Regions from separate parts of the Homo sapiens genome. Here region 1 is linked to region 2. The links are contacts of gene promoters, found by promoter capture Hi-C in blood cells and fetal thymus (Javierre and others, 2016). All regions are on one chromosome and are shown on one strand. The core of a region is centred on a gene start or on the middle of the fragment in contact, and the rest is flanking DNA. Distances in the headings are between cores, read along the strand shown. Region 1 overlaps LAYN (layilin). Region 2 holds the start of PIH1D2 (PIH1 domain containing 2).

Region 1 (7,425 bases), core at 1,352-3,851, 520 kb after region 2:
CTGCAGTAACAAACATGCAAACAGAACAACGTGTAGTATCAGGGATGGGAGTACATAAGCCTAGAAGCTGAGACTCAAATTTCATTTTTAGTTTCTTTAAAAAATATTTTTGTTTAGAGACAGGGTCTCATTCTGTTGCCCACGCAGGAGAGCAGTGGCGTGATCCTAGCTCACTGCAGCCTCAACCTCCTGGGCTCAAGCAATTCCCCCACCTCGGCCTCCTGAGTAGCTGGGACTGCAGGCGCATGCCACCATGCCCTGCTAATTTTTAAATTTTTTGTAGAGTCAGAGTCTCACTATTTTGCCCAGGAAGGTCTGGAACTCCTGAACTCAAGCTATCCTCCAATCTTGGTCTCCCAAGGTTCTGGGATTACAGGCGTCAGCCACTGCGCCTGGCCTCATTTTTAGTTTTGCAAGTAGTTAGATATTTCCAAGTCTGGATGTCAGGAGAAACAAAAAAAGGTCCCCTGTGGCCACATGCAGAGGAAGGGCTGTAGACACAGACTAACACTCTGTTTCCTGCTCTTTATTTGATTTTATTATTCTTTGAAAAAAACAGATATGAGAATTGCCGATGCACAGGCCAGCCTGTGCTACCATATGTGGGCTTTGAAAAGATTCTGGATTTTCTGTCTGTATGATAATATGTGCTGCTGTATAGAGCAAGGAAAACAGAGGTGGTTTTCCAAGCTCCACAGCCCATCTTTATCACTGCCAGGTAAAGCTCTGTCCCTTAAAAGTTAGATACAACCAACCAAGTGACATTTATTGAGACTCTACTATGTGCCAGACCTGGGCAAGGTACCTTCTCATAAGGTCGAGCTGGATGACTGGCTGGGATAAAGGATACAGCCAAAACGTGGGGGTCCAACAGGAGGTCGTGGGGACCACATGCTCATCCACAGGACCTGATCTAAGCTTGTTCATAGACCTTCTGTGTATTTTCCTTATAGAAAATAAGAGGATTTTGCTTATCATTTCTTTTCCATTGTTGTCAGTTTCAGTTTTTTATATGTCCTAATAACCATATATTTCATTTTCCACCCATCCAGACTCCTTACTCCTCCCCATTTGGTCTGGGGAGAACTCATAAATGTCATTGGTCACAAATCCACTCTCCACGCTCACCAGAGTCACAAACCCACTTTCTGATGGGTTCACAGCCATGTTGTCATAGTCACAAGACATGTCATCGGGAGTGGCTTCTCCCGAACACACTCGGAATGAAATATTCTTCAGGTCTGGCCGGGTCTCAGCTAAGTCAGCTTCGCTTTGTTTTCTTATGACATTGTAGACCTCTAGGTCCGGGCTGTTTCCCTGGTGAGGAGAGGGCCAGATGGTGTGTTGCTTCTTTGTGCTAGGGTCTGGCTGCTCCCGTTTTCTAGGAAGAAAGAAAACCAGGGCTGAGTGTTTTAGACCAGGTGATTGAGAATACCCTTGTGCTTCCTGTTGAGACGAGAGGAAGCAGCCCTGGGCAGTCACCCAGCTGCATGTCTCGTCTATGTAACTTACAGGCCAGGGCTTCGGAGTGGGAGGGAACCAAACAGGGAGATGTTATGTTCAAAGTGATTGTGTATCTGTCATTCACTGCTGCCCAAGTGTGGGCAGGGTTATTATCCTGGGGTTCCCTAGAGTCCCTGGAGTGTCCAGGGATAGAACTGAATAGAGAAAAAATACCACATTACAAAAAAAACCCAAAAAAACAAAAAAACACCTCAGCTGTGCACAGTGGCCCACGCCTGTAATCCTAACACTTTGGGAGGCTGAGGCAGGTGGATCACTTGAGCCCAGGAGTTTGAGACCAGCCTGGGCAACATGTTAAAACCCCGTCCCTATAAAAGATACAAAAATTAACCAGGCATGGTGGTGCACACCTGCAGTCCCAGCTAGTTGGGAGGCTGAGGTGGGAGGATAACCTGGGAGGTCAAGGCCGCAGTGAGCTGTGATGGTACCGCTGCACTCCAGCTTGGGCGACAGAGTGAGACCCTGTCTCAAAAATAAAATAAAATAAAATAAAATAATAAAATAAAATAAAATAAAACCAAAACAACAAAAAACACGACTCATCCATAAGTGAAATTTAGCATGTCCTTCCATTATGAATGTAAGAGATAAAACAGCAGGATTAATATCTTTGACTTGATCACTACTAGAAATTATAGATGTTTTCATATCACAGTTATAGATGCCTTGAAATATTTTAACCTCATCTCTACTTCAAAATTATAATAATTATACCCAGCACTAAATAAAGAAGCATTAATAAAGGAGTACATGTATTACTAATCACATATTCATTTTTGGAAATATTTTGCTAAACTATATAACAGTATGATTGCTTCCTTTGCAACCCAATGTATTTTATTTTATGCATTTAAAATATTGTACTGGGCCGGGTGTGGTGGCTCATGCCTGTAATCCTAGCACTTAGGGCAGCTGAGGTGGGCGGATCACCTGAGGTCAGGAGTTCGAGACCAGCCTGGCCAACATGGTGAAACCCATCTCTACTAAAAATACAAAATTAGCCAGGCATGGTGGTATGTGCCTGTAATCCCGGCTACTTGGGAGGCTGAGGCACGAGAATCACTTGAACCCGGGAGGCGGAGGTTGCAGTGAGCCGAGATTGCGCCATTGCACTCCAGCCTGGGCGACAGAGAAAGACTCTGTCTCAAATATATATATATATATATATTTTTTTAAATAAAATAATAAATAAAATAAAATATTGTTCTGGAAGGAGTCCATAGGCCTCACCAGACTGCTGCAGGGCACAAAAAAGATTAAAAACCCTTGGGATAGACAGACACCCCAGCTTTAGAGTCACAATTCCCAAATCCTGTTAAAGTACAAAACAGAGAGTCAGGAAAGGAAATCAAGAACCAACTGAGTAGGCAGAGTAGGCAGCTGGAAAATATGCCTGTAATTTTTTGAACTAAATTCTACTTTAAGATTCAAAGGAAATAACTAATAAAATAATCCCAATAATAGGTAACATTCAAGTGCTTAGTATATACTTATTCTGCAAGTATTAACTGCCTTAATCCTTATAATAATCCTACAAGGAAGTTACAATTAACTGAAATAGATTTTACATTGGAATCTTACTAATTCATCTCAAATTGGTCTTTAAAGGGAGTCAAATCTTAAATTGGGCCTTAGTTTTCCTGTTGTAAATGGGAATACTAGACATCTTCTCCATATACCATGATGATGGAGAATAAAAAGGTAACTGAGAAGAGCTTTCAGTACTAAAAATAAAATAAAATAAAATAAAATAGTGGCACACGATCCTGACCATATACAGAAATTGTTGATGCCACCTAGTGTAGCTATTTTATAGCACTCTATACTTGTGTACTGAATTAAAAGAAAAGTCAGTTAAAAGGAATTTGGCTCTTTCAGTTTGAATTAAGTGGTTTAGTTTCAGATGTTTACCAGAATACTTTGCAGCAGTCATTTTTCATATGGCTCACTATTCATTCCTTCACTCAGTCCACAAACATTTTCAGAGTGAGGGCATACATTCATGAGAGCATTTTTGCTGGGTGACGTGTGAGTGCACGGGAGGTGAATAATGCAATTTCACCCTTCAAGTTGTTTTAAAATCTTCCACGTACAGACAGTAAAGCAAGTAAGATCACTCTCTTAATCACAACTAAGCACAAATGCCTAGTACTTCTGAATGCCCTGACCTGTCAGAGAACCCACTCTCCAATCTGCAATGGTGATACTCTTGGTGCTGCCGTGGGTTTTAATGAAGTAAACAAGGCAATATCCAAATCTCAAAGAGAGCAGAAGATGCAAAGGTTTACACAATGAAGGTTTTACTTGCCTTTTTCTACAGATCCAAACCCAACATACAACTGTGGTGACCACAAGGAGGAGGAGAAGGGGAATGCTGGGGATTAGGATGTAGGCCAGATTCAAGGCAGCTTCTGAAAAGAAAGAAAGCACATGATCAGCATTGGCTGTTTTTTGTTTTGTTTTTCTGTGCTTCAAACCAGGCTTAAAAAAAGCATAATCGTCAAAAACCACTTGTACCCCCAAATCTATTAAAATTAAAAAATTAAAAAACAAAACAAAGGAAAAGGCTAATCAACACAGAGTATTCCAAAGAGCTCATTCCTGAGTGATCAAGACACATCTAGCCAGTTAGCAAAGAGTCTTCTGGTTTCGATGGATGAGCATTTTCTACCTGTCCTATTACCCTAAGTGATAATGAAAATCAGTTTAAATTTTTAGGTCTTCCAAATATCAGAAGGGCACTTTTGTTAATTAAGCTTTTTGTTTTTTTTTTCAGAGAAAAGAGAGTCTCTCTTTTCTTGTCCTCCCTTAGTAAAGCAGGGGCCGCTGGGGCAGTGTTGATGCTTTTGCCTCCAAGGACAGTCACGGAGTTCCCACGATGGGATGGGGGAAAGAGAGGGAAAAAGAAGCAAGCCAGAAGTTTCAGTGTCATTACCAGGAAAGAGGTCACAGGAAGCAAGTAAATTACAGTGTAAAACCTTTCTGACATTTCTAAGACCAATTAGATTCAGTTGGGTCCATGAGCCATGACTGTGAAGAGCACTTAGAGGCTTACTTTTCTGAACTTTCTAGTCCTTTAAGACTTAGAACCAAAGATGTTCCCCTCAAGTGGCTTTGGGAGGAATCAAGGATTGGAGGCTAACCCTCTTCCTACTCCCACTGACCCAAGCTTCCTGACTATCCAGAGGCTGTTGGCTTTTCTTCTGTGAGATTGCAAACCTGACCACCACTAAAACCCCTAAACCCTCAAAACCCACTTTAAATACCACCATAATAACAATGAGCAATAGAAATGCCACCCACCTTTGCAGAGCACTTTGTACTTTTTTCACATATATGTTATATAATAAAGAATCTGATGGGCCTTTGTCCCTGGTTCCTGGGAGAGAGGCTCTAAATCCTTGGACTCTCCCCAGTAATAGGAGTGAATTTGTTATTCATGAGCCCCTCAGACCATAAGAGGGTTTATAAGGAGATGATTCAGACGGGGGCTGGCCATGCCAGAAAGACCAACCATGTGATGATAGGGTTGGGGCTTTGAGCCTAGTGATAGCAGCCTGACCTCTTTTGGAGACTGCTATGCATTGATACCCCCAATAAAACCTCTGGACACGAAAGCTCTGTGGAGCTTCCTGGTTGGTGAACACACTGATGTGCCAGGATGCTAATGCATCCTGATTCCATGGGGTGGGGGATGACAAGGAAACTCCTCCCAGACGTCCTGCTGTGTGTCTTTTCATTTGGCTGATCCTGATTTGTATCCCATACAATCAATCTAGTCATAAATATACTATTTTCCTGAGTTCTGTAGGTTGTTCTAGTGAATTATCAAACCTAAGAGGTGGGGATCATGGGCACTCCTGGATTTGTAGCCAATTGGTCAGAAATGCAGGTGGCCTGGGGACCCCTAAACTTGCAGTCAATGTCTGAAGTGAGGGCAGTCTTGGTATGAGTTGTGCTCATGAGCTGGAGTGTGTGCCAACTCTGGAATTTAGTGTCAGAACTGAACTGCACTATTGCAATATCCTATTTCATTTTATGGACACAGTTGTGCTCTCAGGTAGGCAAGAAAAATATTATTACTTCCATTATGCAAACAATTAAACTGAAGCACAGAGAAGTAAAGTGGTTTTTAAAAGTTGCCCAGTGACAAAAACTCAGATGTCCTTATTGAACTTCAGGGCAAGAGTGAGTTTGAAATCCATTAGCACTCCAATGTGTCATCCTATTTTCTTTTACCTTTTATGATTTAACATTTTAAATGTTTTTGTCTATTTCTTCTCTTTGTTTTGCAGATGAATATTAATCATAGATGTTATGCATCACAGCTTGGGTCTTTCTGCTCTTATTTCTCTACATTTTCTCTCTCAGTCCTCACTCCACCTTACCCCACATGACCTCTGAGTGGCTCCCAAGGCTCTGTCTTCATGCAAATTTTTCACCTGCTGTCTGATTTCCCCAGTCATCTTAGGATAGTTCCATCTGCATATTTCATTGATGAAACCTAGCATTTAGTACAGCTTTTGCAAAGCCACACATGCCCTGTCTAGTTCTATTTTTAGGTAGCTGTGGGAAAGAACAAAGTAGGGAATTCAACCATGGGTAATTTGTAATCAAGGGAGCCTGATTATTCATCTTTCCCAGGAGAGTTTTGTAGATACCTCTACTTTCTTTAAATGTTTTTTTGGCATCTTCTTCCTGTGTTTCTTCTGGAAGTACAGGTGTTGTCAGCTCTGTTTCCTCACCTGGAGAGAGACACATGGACTTGTGAACTTGAAGAAAGGCATAATTCAGGTATTCTTTGAGGTCCTACCATGTTCAAATTGGGATGCAAAAAAGCTGTAGAAATTTTGCCAGCACCATCTATAAACGTAGAAAAGTAAAGGGTTGAATTTGCTGCACTAGAGGTTTAAATTATCTTTGTCTTTTTGGTGAGACCCTTGCTGTCAAGAATCCAGTACTAAAACAATCAAGAAGCAGCTGACATCAAGGTACATAAAATACCAAGGTGTCAAGGGGAAGGGCCAAGGACTCACTTCTAGGACCATAAATTAACAGTTTGGCTCATTTTTTTTGGTCTCATTAGATTAAATTATTCCTTTGATATTGTCAATGATGACAAGTAACACCCCAAACAAAATTTGTAACTGTTGCTTTTCAGCTGTGAGAACACTAGAAAATGAGATGACTAAACTAGCTGTCATGGCTGGGTGTGGTGTATACCTGTCCCAAATGCCTGAGTTAATACCACTAGTTTTTCTGTTGAATAATCCAGTCCAAAGGACATAGGGCTTTAAACCTGTGAAGAGGGGCTATGAAACAGCCCCAGTTAACCCAAATCTCAAGTAACAGGCTTACCTTCAGCTTCTCTAGAAGGAACTGCTGGTTTCTCTGTAGTAGAAAGAAACAAAAACAAAAATAAGTAGTAAGTTTTTATGGCATCTGAATGAAATCAACCACAGCCTCATGGCATCCATTTATTTGCTGATTCATTCCTCCGATAAACTTTATTTGTTGTTATCAGATATCAGGAACTGGGCTAGTAAATCAAAATAATTGCTTTTGCACAAAGACTAACCTTCCCCAGCTTTATTTTGGTGCTTTTTTGTTTTTAAAAAAGTATTTAAAAACGTTTAAATATGATAATTTCCAAATATACAAAAAAGTAGAAAAACTGGTATAATGTACCCTGTGTATCGTCATGCAGCTTCAACTCCTATCAATGTACAGCTCATCTAGTTTCAACAATAATCCCTACTCCTCTCCCCTGCACTCCTGGCCTGGATTATTTTAAAGCAGTCTAAGACATTTTTTCAGTTCATAATGGGGATGTTTTAGAGGGCAACAAACACTGATCTCCAAGTAGTGAAAGTGGTTTAGGGGCTCAGTAGACCACTGGCC
Region 2 (7,250 bases), core at 3,226-5,725:
GGGCCATATGCGTCACAGCCATTATCTTTATGCCTGGGTCTAGATTTACGAAAGAAGGAAGGCTTAAGGACTCACAGAACTGAATTTATCCTTAATATACCAAAGTATTTTTAAACAAAAGTTGATGATTCTGAAAAAGATGAGAATTATTTTAGTTCTCAGAGCTGCAACTTCACCTTGAACTGCTGGGTAGCATTTTCCTTTTGGTCCCCCGGTAAGCATCTTCCATCTGTTTTTCCAGTTCTCTTATTTTCCACATATCTGATTCCTCCTGAATCTAGAATTTTTAAAAAGGAAATAAAAATAAGTTACTAAAAATAACTTTACATTACAGAAAAGTAACTAACTGGCCGGGCACAGTGGCTCACACCTGTAATCCCAGCACTTTGGGAGGCCAAAGCAGGCAGATCATGAGGTCAAGAGTTTGACACCAGCCTGACCAACATGGTGAAACCCCGTCTCTAATAAAAATACAAAAATTAGCCGGGCGTGGTAGCATGCACCTGTAATCCCAGCTACTCAGGAGGCTGAGGCAGGAGAATCGCTTGAACCCTGGAGGCAGAGGTTGCAGTGAGCCGAGATTGCACCACTGCACTCCAGCCTGGGCGATGGAGTGAGACTCTGTATCAACAAAAAAAGAAAAAAAAAAAAAAGCAACTAACTGAAAATACAATCTGACTAATTATTGGGCTACAGACTGGGCTATGATCAGGAACCTGGAAAACAAATTGGTTTCTCTAGAAAGTGGCTGAACAGTCCAATCCAGTAAATCTCAAATATGTGGAAATCTTCCCCAATAGAATTTTTAAACCGCTGCACAGACAAACATCACCTTATCAATCTTGCAATTATGCTGCGATTAGCAAATGATAATGCCACATTTCCAAAATGCAATATGATTTTAATTATATCATCTCAATTGAACCTTAAGCAATCTCATGAGGAAAATATAGCAGCTACCATTATTACATTTTACTGTAAAGAAACAAAAGCTCAGAGATTTTAACAAAGTCAAAAAACTAGTAAGGACAGGTCTTTAAACTCCCTAAGCTAAATCTCTTCTGGTAATATTATAATTTTTGTCAAAAATAAAATAAAATAAAATAATCAGTATGGCTGCTAGGGAATTTCTTGAAAAGCAGAATGTGATTACCCAAAGAACACATTTTATTTCTAAGTCTTCCTGCATAATTTCATTAGATCTGTGCTAGATTTATCTTTTTCTAGCTACCATTTTAAATCTAAGCTTACTATATAACTAGGGGCAGGTTAACATAATTGCATAGGCAGCTCGGGTAACAGTTTTACCCTCGCCCATAATTTTAAAAATCAGGTGATATGATAATAATAATATGATCAAACCAAAAGTAGTACAGTTTACTGAAGAAAACTAAACCAGGGGCCTTGGCCCTCTTTTCATTATATGTGCTCTCCTAGGTGACCTCATCTACTCTCATGACCTCTTATCATCAACCTATACATCAATAATCCCGAAACCTTTATGTCCAGCCCCAACTTTTCTCCTCTACTCCAAGTCTGAATTTTCAACTGCTTGGACATCCTATAAGCACCTCACCATCAACATGTTGAAAACCAAACTAATTACCTTTCCTATCATAATTGTCCCATTTTTTGTTCTTTATCTCAATTAACAGAATTGTCATCATCTACCCAGTCACATAGGTGGTTACACAGTTGACCTTGAACAACAGGAATCTCAACTGTGCAGGTCCACTTATCCTCAGATTTTCTTCCACCTCTGCCACCTGTAAGATAGCAAAACAAGTCCCTCTTCTTCCTCCTCAGCCTACTCAATGTGATTTTCTTAATGAAATGTTGTTTTCTCTAGCTACTTTACTATAAGAATACAGTATATAATACATGTAACATAAAAAATATGTGTTAATCCACTGTTTATGGTATCGCTATGGCTTTCAGTCAGTAGTAGGCTATTGGCACTTACATTTTGAGGGAGTAAAAAGTTATACATGGATTTTCGACTATGCAGGGGGTTGATGCCCCTAGCCCCTGCATTGTTCAAGGGTCAACTGAATTAGATTCCATTCTTATCATTATAATCTAATTAGCCACCAACTTCTTTGGATTCTATCTCCTAAATTCCTCTTCTTCATCCCTGCTGTCACTAATTTCATGCGAACCCTCATCATCTCTCACCTGTAATACTGCAATTGCCTCCTAATTACTCTCCCTTCTGTATCTCCCCATCTGATTCATTCCCTACCCAGCTGACAAACCATCTTTCTAAAATATAACTATGATCATGCCACACCCTGTTTAAAAACATTTGATGGCTTCTTTATTGCCTAGAGGAAGAAGTCTCAGCTCCAAACATCACAATCCAACTCTAATTACCACTGAGGCCTTATCTTCTGCCACTATCCCCTACCTTCCCTGCTTTCTGGATAAATTTCTTGCCATGCCCCAAGTGATTAATGCTCTTTCTCGTTGCCATATTAATGCATGATGCTGTCTATCCAGAATGATATTTCATACCTGGTAAACGTATACCTATTCAAGAACCAGTTCAAAGATCAGCAGCTGAAATACCACTAATTCTGTAAAATCTTTTCTAATTCCCCAGTGTAGATTTTATTATTTCCTCCTTAGTGCTCCAAAGCACTTTGCAAATATCTCTGTTATACAGTACTTATCAAACTGTATTATAATTATCTATTTTATTCATCATTTTATTTCCTACTGTGTACGGAAGCTTCCAAAAACTAGATGACAAGAATATTCTTTGTATCTCCCAGTTGTTCCAAAATAATGCTTGGCACACTGCTTGCCTTCAGTAAGCGTTGAGGAGTAACTAGGTTGTACCTCCCACCTTATTGTGAGCATCTGTGTGCCGGATGACATTCCTCAGGAGGACCTTCCCCAGTGGAATCCGGGACATTCTTCAATCTGAAATGAATCAACAAATAACGTTTAGTAATAATTTCTGTTATTACTTTATCTTTTCTTGAAGTTTTATAAAGAAGCATATGAGGTACAGGAAAGATCACTGAACTAGAAGTCAGAGATTCTAAAGAATAGTTTTCCCTTTACCATTAAAAGAGGGAAATGCCTAAACACACTAATGTGAGATGAAAGGAGATAATGTACATTAAAGTTCTTTGAAAATGCACAAGACTACATAAAATTAAGTGCTTTCATGAGCACCATTTTATTTAATCCTCATAACTACTTTTTATATGAGGCAAGTATCTCCATCCCTATTTTGTAGATGAAGTTCCCTTAAAGCTGTAACGTCCCAAGCCACATAGTCCCAGGCAAATGATGTATGTCACTGTCTAAATTAAAAATCAAACCTCCAATCCCAATATAGTTTGCACTGAAGCAAATACGTAGATTTGAGAGTGTCAGGAACCACGGGTGTCAACAGTAACAGAAACTGATTACTCAAAACATCAAATGCAAAGATGTCCTAAATTTCTCCATTTGGGGGCATTTTATTTCCTACTTGCTACGGAAGCTTCCAAAAACTAGATGACAAGAATATTTTCGTGTGTAGCTAGCAGGAGCTTTGTGCAACCACCCCAACGCTCACTCACCCCTTGATCCTGAGGAAATCAGGCATCTTGCTAGTGAGACGAAGAACCACTCCATTACAAGATCTCCTCCGACCCAGGAAGCCAAGGAGTCAGGGCTCAAAGGCAGCTCTGCAGCTTCACCCGAGTCCTTCGTGAAAACGCAGCCTTCCCACTGGTTACTCTGCCCTCACCTGTGGCCCAGGCCACTGCCGCGTTTCCCCCAGCCCAGACCGACAGGCAGATCTCTCTCCCGGACTGAGGCCGGAGGCTGAGCCGGGGCGGAATTCGGACAGCCCGGTTGACCTGGGCATTCCCCGCTCACGCTCCTCTAGGACGAACCCCGGGGGTAAGTTTCACTCCCCAGAAAGGCTGGGAACGCTTTGGATGGCTACGGCCTTCGGTTGGGCCCCAGAAAGTATCTAGGGAGCCTGAAGCGGGGGTTGAGGTTTCCAAGTGGAAGACAGAGGAAATATCCCCATCTTTGTCACCGGGATCCCTGTTCCCCAGCGGCCTCGGAGCTCCCGGTAACCTTCCCTCCAAACGCCCTCCCCACACAAATACACACAAACACACCCATACCGTGCGCCGCAGCCTCGCGTGGCGGGGGGTAGGGGGGAAGAAGTGGTTTGGGAGAAAAAGGAGGAGACTTCCTTTTCAGGCCGGAAGTCGTGCTCCTGAGAAATCGTCCCACCAACAGGCAGCCCAGAGACTCCCACAAGGGAGGGTTTTCAGGACACTCCAGAGGTTGACGGGTGCAGAAGGAAGGCGGGCGCTTTCCTGGAAGAGAAGTGGGTCAGGCCCAACTGAAAAGCAAGCCTGGCACCAGAAGGGGGACATTCCGGAACTAGATATGAAGAGACTTTTCTCCCTGAAGTTCCCCGGACCCAATTAGATGTTGTACCCAGGCTGGTTACCCTGGTAACAGGCGTCGCGGTTTGTCAAGGAACTGAGAGAAGAGGTGGGTTTGCCAACCTATAGAATGATTACCCGTTAGAACTGAGAGAAGAGGTGGGTTTGCAGACCTATGGAATGATTATCCGTTAGTTAAGTTTCCCGTTTAGCATAACCCTTACACAGTAATTGAAGAATCTAAACCTCTTTTCCTCATTCTAAAGATGCTGTGGGACACCTCTCCAATGGGAGAAGAGGCTAAGGAGATTTATCTGAAGACGTAGAGAAGTGTCCCAGCCTCTCTATTAGCTTACTTAATCTCGCAATAATCCTATGGTAGAGGTATTATCGTCTTCATTTTGAACAGAACATTAATTGCTCAAGGTCACAGAGCTAGTGAGAGATAGAACTAAGACCGGAATCTAGGCATTCTGGCTCACAAGTCCATGCTTTGAAATACTAAACTATACTGAGGATTAAGGAAGTCTTATGTGGCCCTCACCCCACACCACACCTCTGGCAATTTCAGAACTGGGGAGCCACCAGTCAGGTGTTGGAACAAGAAGATCAGGAAACCCAGACTTAAAATGATTACTCTGACTTGTCAGGGTCCAAATAGAAGTAAGGCCTTATCTGAGAGGACAATGTGAGAATTTAGGAAGAGGTACTAGATAATTAAAGAATAAGGAAAACATAAAGTGGTGCTGATCCACAACCTTTTAGACACAAATGCTGTCCTAACTTCACCAAAACAATTCCTGACCCATTCCACCTCCCCAAAGCAGAAATGAATCAATAATTACACAGACAGTTTTCTTCCTGAAGTCGTGTTTTTCCACAGGCTTAAGAAAATTATTCACCACTCATAAGTCATGGAGACATCCTCAAAAGGTCTGCTTACCCAAGTTACTCAGTTTTGGAACCTCCTAGATGATCTAGCTCAGAGTGACCCTGAGGGCTATGAGAAGTTTATTCAGCAGCAGCTGAAAGAAGGGAAACAGCTCTGTGCTGCCCCAGAACCACAGCTTTGTCTACAGACCAGGATTCTGGTATGTCGAGTTGGTGCCAGGGATGGGGAGGTCTTGAATGAAATGATCCCAGAATAACCAGAGAATACTTTACACTTAGGTATTGCTAATTTTTTTTGTTTTTTTTTTGTTTTGTTTTGTTTTGTTTTGTTTTTTGAGACAGAGTCTTACTTTGTCACCAGGCTGGAGTGCAATGGTGTGGTCTTGGCTCGCTGCAACCTCTGCCTCCCGGGTTTAAGCGATTCTCCTGCCTCAGCCTCCCAAGTAGCTGGGATTACAGGTGTGTACTACCATGCCCGGCTAATTTTTGTATTATTAGTAGAGGCGGGGTTTCACCATGTTGGCCAGGCTGGTCTTGAACTCCTGACTTCAGGTGATCCACCTGACTCAGCCTCCCAAAGTGCTGGGATTACAGGCATGAGCCACTGCGCCTGGCAGACTTTTTTTTTTTTTTTTTTTTTTTTTTTTTGAGATAGGGTCTTGCTGGCTCTGTCGCTCAAGCTGGAGTGCAGTGGCACAATCACAGCTCACAATCACAGCTCATTGCAGCCCAAGCGATCCTCCCACCTCAGCCTCCCAAGTAGCTGGGATCACAGGTGGGCATCACCACACCCGGCTAATTTTTAAATGATTTTTGTAGAGACAGGGTCTCCCTATGTTTCACAGGCTAATCTCGAACTCCTAGGCCTCAAGCAACCCTCCTACCTCAGCCTCTCAAAGTACTAGGGTAACATACGTGAGCCACCACCCCAGTCTGGATTCCTAATTAAAAGCCAGCAGCCTTGGGGAAATCAAATAACAACAGTATAATCAAACGCAGTTTTAATACATGAAATGACTTACTTGGAGCCTAAAATTCTTTCATTCCTGTGGTGAGTGGCTTTTAGGATATTATTTTTTAAATGTTTTTGTTTTTGTTTTTTTTGAGATGGAGTTTCACTCTCGTCACCCGGGCAGGAGTGCAATGGCACAATCTTGGCTCACTGCAACCTCCGCCTCCTGGGTTCAAGCGATTCTCCTGCCTCAGCCTCCCGAGTAGCTGGGATTACAGGTATCCACCACCACACCTGGCTAATTTTTGTATTTTTAGTAGAAACGGAGTTTCACCATGTTGGCCAGGCTGGTCTCAAATTCCTGACCTCAGGTGATCCGGCCGCCTTGGACCCCCAAAGTGCTCGGATTACAGGCGGGAGCCACCATGCCTGGCCTTAAATGGTTTTAAACTAGGTTTTGAGATGTGCAAAATTATTTGCTTTCCAGAAACCAAAAGAAAAAATACTTTTTATCAACCTGTGTCAGTGGACAAGGATCCCAGCTCCCCAATCAACCACTCATCCAGTACCTCTAACTGTTGGCAAACCAGAAGATACAACTGAGATATCAGGTACAAATAATTGAGAGAAAGCACATTGTAAAAATTTTATTAGGAATGGACAAGATCTTACTTGGTTGAGAGCATTTCAAGTAAAACTCTTTATTTGTTGATAATATAATTACAATTAGTGTATCTTTATGCAAATTTAATACTGTTTAACTTTTGTAATAAGGTGAGCTGTTTTAATCCATGCAAAAGTGCCAAGAAATGTCATAATTGCTGTAGCACTACTGTGATTACCTCTGAAAAATACAGGAATATTCTCTAGCTTTATCAGGAATATGGTTTAATATATTGCCTGACAGTATCATTAGTGCAACAATTTTTCTTCATTTCATACCCTTTCAATTACACACACAGATGCTTACACAGTCATTGATGTTGCCTACAATCCTGATGTTC

The links. The method cuts DNA at HindIII sites, captures the fragments that hold promoters and counts their contacts. A CHiCAGO score of 5 or more calls a contact.
Region 1: a contact is called between a fragment that was not itself captured here and the fragment with the promoter of PIH1D2 in region 2, in 1 of 17 cell types (M2 macrophages). The highest score is 7.9, in M2 macrophages.

What each region holds. Positions count from the first base shown.
Region 1 is chr11:111,554,051-111,561,475 of GRCh38, reverse strand. It overlaps LAYN (layilin), which reads right to left. Exons shown (of 7, transcript NM_178834.5): 4 at 6,883-6,915; 5 at 6,186-6,269; 6 at 3,833-3,935; 7 at 1-1,381. The coding sequence ends at 1,018. Among named protein-coding and RNA genes, the nearest start is that of LAYN, 17 kb to the right of the region's middle. RefSeq lists an enhancer at 6,064-7,263. The HindIII fragment of the contact is 3,362 bases long and covers 921-4,282 here.
Region 2 is chr11:112,071,242-112,078,491 of GRCh38, reverse strand. It overlaps PIH1D2 (PIH1 domain containing 2), which reads left to right and starts at 4,475. Exons shown (of 6, transcript NM_138789.4): 1 at 4,475-4,512; 2 at 5,287-5,494; 3 at 6,734-6,857; 4 at 7,209-7,250. The coding sequence starts at 5,318. NKAPD1 (NKAP domain containing 1) reads right to left here and starts at 4,193. Exons shown (of 6, transcript NM_018195.4): 1 at 3,576-4,193; 2 at 2,849-2,925; 3 at 177-277. The coding sequence starts at 2,917. RefSeq lists enhancers at 3,701-3,750, 3,811-3,930, 4,341-4,390. The HindIII fragment of the contact is 10,336 bases long and covers 3,499-7,250 here.